Linked DNA regions of Homo sapiens: region 1 is linked to region 2. Evidence: promoter capture Hi-C in human tissues and cell types (Jung and others, 2019). All regions are on one chromosome and are shown on one strand. Each heading gives the region's core, a stretch centred on a gene start or on the middle of the fragment in contact. The rest is flanking DNA. Distances are from core to core; before and after follow the strand shown.

The links. The method cuts DNA at HindIII sites, captures the fragments that hold promoters and counts their contacts. A contact is called where the count stands out against the background at its distance.
Region 1: a contact is called between the fragment with the promoter of ZNF211 here and a fragment that was not itself captured in region 2, in 1 of the 25 tissues and cell types used here (dorsolateral prefrontal cortex).

The regions. Positions count from the first base shown.
Region 1 is chr19:57,631,660-57,635,483 of GRCh38, forward strand. ZNF211 (zinc finger protein 211) reads left to right here and starts at 1,509. Exons shown (of 4, transcript NM_006385.5): 1 at 1,509-1,777; 2 at 2,364-2,402; 3 at 2,970-3,096. The coding sequence starts at 1,688. RefSeq lists enhancers at 1,109-1,198, 1,269-1,318 and a silencer at 1,759-1,828. The HindIII fragment of the contact is 12,794 bases long and covers 1-2,516 here.
Region 2 is chr19:58,163,536-58,167,455 of GRCh38, forward strand. The region is part of intron 1 of LOC124904784 (a long non-coding RNA gene); the gene reads left to right. Among named protein-coding and RNA genes, the nearest start is that of ZNF329, 15 kb to the left of the region's middle. The HindIII fragment of the contact is 6,997 bases long and covers 1-3,920 here.

The DNA of each region.
Region 1 (3,824 bases), core at 259-2,758, 530 kb before region 2:
ATTTTATGCATTAAAAACTTTTGTCTGGGCATGGTGACTCATGCTTGTAATCTCAGCAGTTTGGGAGGCTGAGGCAAGAAGATTGCATGGCCCTAGGAGTTTGAGACTAGCCTGGGCCCTATAGGGAGACTCCATTCCTACAATAATTTTTTTTTTAACTAGCCGGGTGTGGTGGTGTGCTTGTAGTGCCAGCTACTCAAGAGGCTGAGGTGGGAGGATCACTTGAGCCCAGGAAGTGGAGGCTGCAATGAGCTATGATTGTTCCACTGTACTCCAGCCTGGACAACAGAGTGAGACCCTGTCTCAAAAAAAAATTAAATGTTTTGATTATACAAGGAAAATGAACATTCATGTATTAAAGCTTCATGTTTTATGAACAAAACTGACTTTGCAGGCAGGAGAGCGTTTTCTGGGGGCACCAGAAGCAGGGAACTTCCCTTGTCCGTTGGCTTCAGGGCTGCCCACTATCCCTCCACTATCTTCCCATTGTAGCCCTGTCTGGTGTCTTTTGTCCCTGACAAAACCTACAAAAAGTGACTTTAACACTTCAGGCTGCATGCATTTGAAGAGCAATAAGATAACGTTTTTTCGCTTCCCACTACCAGTGGAGATCTGCTGGGGTGGGCTGCATGGAATCTGAAATGATGTCTAAATACTGAAGTGAACCTCTACACTAGAGACTGATATACAGCTGACCCTTAAACGACGCAGGGGTCAGGGATACCGACCCCTGCGGAATTGAAAATGCTTGTATTACTTTTGACTCCCCTAGGTCTTAACTACTAATAGCCAACTGTTGCCCGGAAGCCTTATGAAGTTGCCCGGAAGCCTTATGAATTACATAAACTCCCAGTCGATTAACACATTTTGTATGATATATGCATGATATATGCATAATATATATGATATATGCATTTTGTATGATATATGCATTATATATATTTTAGTATAAGAACTATACTTGTACTAAAACAGACCAGAGAAAGGGTATCAGGAAAATTGTAAGAGGCTCGTTGACATTACACCCAATTAAAAAAAGGAAAATAAAAGAATACGGAAGGGAAAATACATTTACTAATCATTAAGTGGAAGTGGATCATCATAAAGGTCTTCATCCTTGTGTTCTTCATGCTGGGCAAGAGAATGAGGTCTTGCTGTCTCTGGGGCAAGAGGTCGGGGAGCTGGAAGAGGCAGGAAAAGGAGCACACTCGAAGTAACGTTTATTGGGGAAAAAAAACGCCTACGTGTAAATGGACCCGCACAGCTCAAACCTGTGTTGTTCAAGTGTCAACCTACTTAAGACCTCAAACACCGAAGCCCCTCAGTCGCCCTGGAAGGCAGCAGACGCAGCTTCCTAGCGCTCCCAGCTGTCTGCACACAAGGCGCCCTCCGTCGCAGCCTGGGGGAGACTACATTACCCAGAAAGCCTTGCGTCGAGCGGCAGTACTTTGATCCAATGAAAATCCAAGACAGGGGCATTTCCGTGTGGGTCTACCCCCGCCCCCCCCAGGGCGGGACTTGTGGCGTCTTCGCAGCGGTCATTTTGGCTGCCCTCCCGGAGGTCCGTTCTGTCTGTCAGCCGCTTTGGTACGCTGCATCGGGATCGAAGTGACGGACCGTGAAGGCGCGAGAGTCAGGTCTGAGGGTCGGGGGCAGAGCCGCCCGCGAGGCCGGCCTGGGGATAGCGATGCTCGGGTTCCCCCCGGGTCGCCCGCAGCTCCCGGTCCAGCTCCGCCCACAGACTCGGATGGCGACCGCACTGAGGGACCCGGCTTCGGTGAGCGCTGCGATCTCCGGGCCTCCCCCGGCCGAGATTCTTAAGTCCCAAGTGAGAGGCACCAGCTCACGTCTCTGTAGCACAGGGTCGGGGACACTGAGGCTCGTGGGTGGGGCCCCTATTTCTGACATCCGATGTGGTGGGCAGGGGGACAAGGGACAGGACCGGCGCGTGCAGGGCTTGGACGGGCAACCGAGAAGGGGGCATTCAGGAACCTGGGCTCCACATTGTTACTGCAGGGAACAAAGTTTGAGAGAGATCTACCTTTATTCTTAGGGCCGTGGGAGCCATAGAGAGCTTGCGCAAACGAGAGACACCATCTGAGTTAAATTTGAAAAATCCTCTGCAGGCTGTTCAGTGGAAGAAAAGACTTTAGAGATGGATGAGGACGTTGAGGCAGAGGGAGGTTGAATATTTTTCCAAGGCCACACAACTGGTGAGAGGCAGCACTAAGGACCGAGGCGCACAGGTTAGACAGTCGACCCAAAGTTACGTGGCTCTGGGCCGGGGCAAGGGTACAGGGAAGGCCTGTGCCCATGGAGCACTGCCATGATCACATTCCTCTGAGGCCTGCGTCTTTCCACAGGTTCCCATAGCTACAGAGGTGCTTTTCAAACTTACACAGGTAAGTGGAGGTATCTCAGCCCCTCACTGGTCTGGAATGTCCCTCCACCCTCCCCAGACAGATATTTTCTTTAGATTTGTGGTGTCATGGGACTCACCTACCATTCTCTCAGCGTTTGGTTTGGGAACCCTGGAGAATCCCTGAGCTAAGGGCCCTGAGTCCAGGCCAATGTTTCCATTTGGAGCAGCCAATGGAAAGATGGGTGAAAATTTATGATAGAAACAGGTAGGTACCAGCTTTTGGAACTCCTTGGAGGTGAGGCTGAGCTGGTTCAGGGAACTGCAGGTTTCCTTTATTTCTGTGAAGTTTGGCATCTATTGTGAGGAAGTTGGAGTTTGGGATCAGAGGAGGGAGATTTATCTAACCCAAGTGTTGACAGGATACAGAGTGGAAAACAGAATGAACACAGTGACTAATGGGAATGTGAAGAGACAGCAGGGATCAATGACACCAAGGTCTGGTGTCTCTTCTGACTTGGGGATCTTGGGAGGAGAATGTATGGGGACATGGATTTTGAGTCTTCCAAATTGAGACTGTTCATGGTTTCATCAATCCCTATTATGCTAGGGAAGTGTGACCTTTGAAGATGTGGCCGTGTACTTCTCCTGGGAGGAATGGGATCTCCTTGATGAGGCTCAGAAACACCTGTACTTCGATGTGATGCTGGAGAACTTTGCACTTACGTCCTCCCTGGGTAAGGCCCTCATACTCACCCTTGTGCCCTGGACTAGGCTCTCTGTTTCTCCTTTTCCTCAGGAGCAGCTCTGTCCTCATATCTGGACTATAGGCACTGCCTCCTTCCCCAGTTCCCTGGGTAGATGTTGTGGACTGAGTGCAAGCCTACTTCCCTTATCGTCCCAGCCCAAAAGCATCTTGGGTAAGGATTTGGGATCAGTAGTCTTACAGTAAGCCTAATAGATCCCACCTGACTTGCCTTCTCCCTGTCTGGTGACTTTCTAGATCTATGGCACCCAGTTTTCCCTCCCTTCGTGTACCTAACATTTATTTGTGCTAGACTGTGACATGAAATGTAGTCACTGACATTGCCACTATTTACACAGACTGTTCTTCAACCACCAACCTTTCCATTAACAGCAGAACACTCTAACAAATTGTGCCGCAGAGACATTACACAGACTGTTCTTATAGAAACCTCCTTCAAGGTGTTTTTCTTTGTTTTTAATTGTAAAATATATATAACAAAATTTACCATTTTAATCATTTTCAAGTATATAGTTCAGCGCATTTAGTACATTCGCATTATTGTGCAACCATCACCACCATCCTTCTATAGTACTTTTTCATCTTATAAAACTGAAACTTTGTACTCATTAAATAATAACTCTTCCCATCCCCTGGCAACCACCATTTTACTTTTGGTCTGTATGAATTTGTCTACTGTAAGTACCTCATATGAGTGGG
Region 2 (3,920 bases), core at 748-3,247:
CACTGTGTTGTCCAGGCTGGTCTCGAACTTCTGAACTCAAGTGATCTTCCTGCCTTGGCCTCCCAAAGTGCTGGTATTACAAGGGTGAGCCACCACACCTGGCCTGATTTCCATGTTTGAACGGTTGCACTGGTTGAGTGTTGGGATGGTGTCATGAACAGAAGAGGAGATGATGATGAAAGCACTACTGTGTAGTTCAGTCAAGAAGTGTCATGACTTGGAACCGGATGAGTCAATGGAAGTAAAAAGGGGATCATTTCAATGTATGTTTAAGGTGGGCTCAGAATTTGGTGATTGATTCAAAATGGAAGTGGAAGGGTCCATGGCTACTGGCATGAGCAACTGTGATGCAATCCATGGACAGGAGAAACCTGGGAGAAGAGGAGGTAGAGCATGAGAGTAGAACTCAGTACTGACAAGGTATGGTTGTAAAATGAATAGACACTCCCAGCAGGCAGTATGAATATGGTGAAATATGTCCATGCTCAGAAAAGAATCTGGAATGAAGCTACAAATTGTGATTCATCAATGTTCAGATGGTGTTTGAAGCCAGCAGAATAAAACAGACCATACTGGTGGATGAGAGAAGAGGGCTCAGGACAAGCCCCCAAAGCACTGGGGTCCAGAAGAGCATCTTGAAAACAGCGTGAGGAGACTGGGCGCGGTGGCTCACGCCTGTAATCCCAGCACTTTGGGACGCTGAGGCTGGTGGATCACGAGGTTGGGAGATCGAGACCATCCTGGCTAACATGGTGAAATCCCGTCTCTACTAAAAATACAAAAAATTAGCTGGGCATGGTGGCGGGCGCCTGTAGTCCCAGCTACTCAGGAGGCTGAGGCAGGAGAATGGCGTGAACCCAGGAGGCAGAGCTTGCAGTGAGCCAAGATCGTGCCACTGCACTCCAGCCTGGGCGACAGAGCGAGACTCCGTCTCAAAAGAAAAAAAAAAAAAAAGAAAGAAAGAAAAAGAAAAGAGAGTGAGAAATGACTACTAGCAGAGATTGATCTATTTTCCTATCAGCCACCTGGAGAGACTGGGCTTATTCTTATTTGCTCAGTCGCTCCTGGCAAGACAGATTTGGAAACAAATCAACATGCTTTCGATGTGCTTAATACCAGCATTTTCTCTCCAGCTCTTAAAATTATGGTTTTTTAATTGATTGAACAAGCCATAATTTATTCAGTGAACAACTGTAGGGGATGTACAAATGTATCTGGTTTTTTTTTTTTTTTGGATTGTGAAACTATCATCAAAAGCAAAGAGATAACCAGGAAGGAAGACATTTGTCTGAAAACCATATGCCAGGCCAGGCGTGGTGGCTCATGCCTGAAATCCGAGCACTTTGGGAGACTGAGGTGGGTGGATCACAAGGTCAGGAGTTTGAGACCAGCTTGGCCAACACGGTGAAACCCCGTCTCTACTAAAAAAAAAATACAAAAATTGGCTGGGCATGGTGGCGTGTACCTGTAATCCCAGCTACCTGGGAGGCTAAGGCAGGAGAATTGTTTGAACCCAGGAGGCAGAGGTTGCAGTAAGCCGAGACTGCGCCACTGCCCTCCAGCCTGGGTGACAGAGGACGACTCCGTCTCAAAACAAAACAAAACAAAATAAAAACAACAACAACAAAAATGCCATCCTGAAAGTGGAAAGATTCACAAAGAATGAGCTTCATTTCTTCACATTTGGAAGAAACCAGGACTGTAAGGTCCACTTAGAGAAGCAGAAGGAGGACCAGGAGAGATGAGTCAAACAAATGATGCTTGAGGAACACTGATTCAGGAATGAGGTTGCAAGAATAAGAAATGCACAGCTAATGTTAAGTAGAATTCAAGCCTTCTTCCACTAAACAATATTCTTTTTTGTTTTGTTTTGTTTTGTTTTTGAGACAGAGTCTTGCTCTGTCACCCAGGCTGGAGTGCAGTGGCAGGATCTCAGGTCACTGCGAGCTCTGCCTCCCGGGTTCATGCCATTCTCCTGCCTCAGCTTCCAGAGTAGCTGGGACTACAAGCGCGCGCCACCACACCCAGCTAATTTTTTGTATTTTTAGTAGAGACGGGGTTTCACCGTGTTAGTCAGGATGGTCTCGATCTCCTGACCTCATGATCCACCCTCCTTGGCCTCCCAAAGTGCTGCCATTACAGGCATGAGCCACCGCGCCTGGCCTTGTTTTTGTTTTTTGAGACAGAGTCTCATTCTGTCACCCAGGCTGGAGTGCAATGGCATGATCTTGGCTCACTGCGACCTTCACCTCCTGGGTTCAAGCAATTCTCTGCCTCGGCCTCTCAAGTAGCTGGGATTCAGGCACCCGCCACCACACCTGGCTAATTTTTGTATTTTTAGTAGAGACAGGGGTGTCGCCATCTTGGCCAGGCTGGTCTTGAACTCCTGACCTTGTGATCCACCCACGTTGGCCTCTCAAAATGTTGGGACTACAGGCGTGAGCCACCGTGCCTGGCCCACTAAACAATATTCTTATCAATGAATACCACTACATACATGACTCATTGTAAAACAACATTCAGATTTAATAAACCATAAATGCACAGGGAAAAACCCCTGAAAATTATGATTTTGGGAATGCTTTTGGTCAAAACACTCAACTTCTTAGACTTGCAAACAGTTCAGTGTAGAAAAGCCTTATATATGAAATATACGTAGTAAATTTTTTAAGTGTAGCACAAGTCTCAGTCAATGTAAGCGAATTCATGTTAGAGAGAGTTGAGTTGAATGTAAGGAATGTGGAAAAGTGTATTCAGAGCTCCTCTCATCTTTGTTTTGAGAGCACTCACACAGTTGACAAACCCTCCAGATGTTCTGAATGTGAGAAATCCCTGTTTATGGTAAATACTTTCTGACATCAGAGAAGTCATACTGGAGAGAGACCATATAAATGTAGTATGTGTAAAGAAGTCTTTAAACAGAGCTCAACCCCACTGATGTATGAGCAAACTCTCTCAGGAAATAGACCTTACAAATGTGTTGAGTGTTGGAGAGTCTTTATTAAGAAATATTTCTTTCAGTATGTTTCAGAACTTATACAGGAGAACAATACTATAAATGTAATCGCTGTAGCAAAGGCTGTAGACACAAATTATACCTTATTCAATATGAGACAATTTATACTTGTGGGAAATTATATATTTGCAGTGAATTTAGGAAATTCTTCTAAAGAAGTGAACACTTTTACCCTATAGCTAAGAATCTATAGAGACACCTTATGAAGGGAATCATTCAGGGAAAGGTTTTACACTTTGCTCCTCCACTACTCAAAAATCACAGAAGACACACTGGAGAGCAAAGTGATGGATACAGTCATCGTGGGAAAGGCTTCAGACGTAGCCTAGCCCTTATGATGTGACATCAGAGGACTCATACTGAGGAAAACCCCATACATGTAATTTGCGTGGAAGAGCATTCAGGAGTTGTTCTCATATTATTGAACGTAAGAGGACTCATACTGGAGAACACTATGAATGCAGTCAGTATTGGCAAGCTTTCAACCATGGCTTTTACCTTATTTGACACCAGGAAATTCAAACAAATTAGAAAAACTCATTGAAAAAAGATCAATGTGGAAAAGCTATTGGTTGGAATTCCATTTTATTTGACATCAGGGATAAAGGAGGCAAAAGCCACCAGTTATTTTTTAACTCTTAAGTATCTGAATGTAACAAGACTGCAAACTTGTGACTCCCTGCAGCCACAGATCAGCAGGGATAAGCAGTTCTATTCTACATATGTCCCTAATTTGCCATAGAAACACCATTTAATGGGGACTCAGGGTCTAGGCCTGATGAACAATGTCTCATAGAAATGTCTGGCCATATGCGGCTGGGCACAGTGGCTCACGCCTGTAATCCCAGCACTTTGGGAGTCCGAGGCGGGTGGATCACGAGGTCAGGAGATCAAGACCATCCTG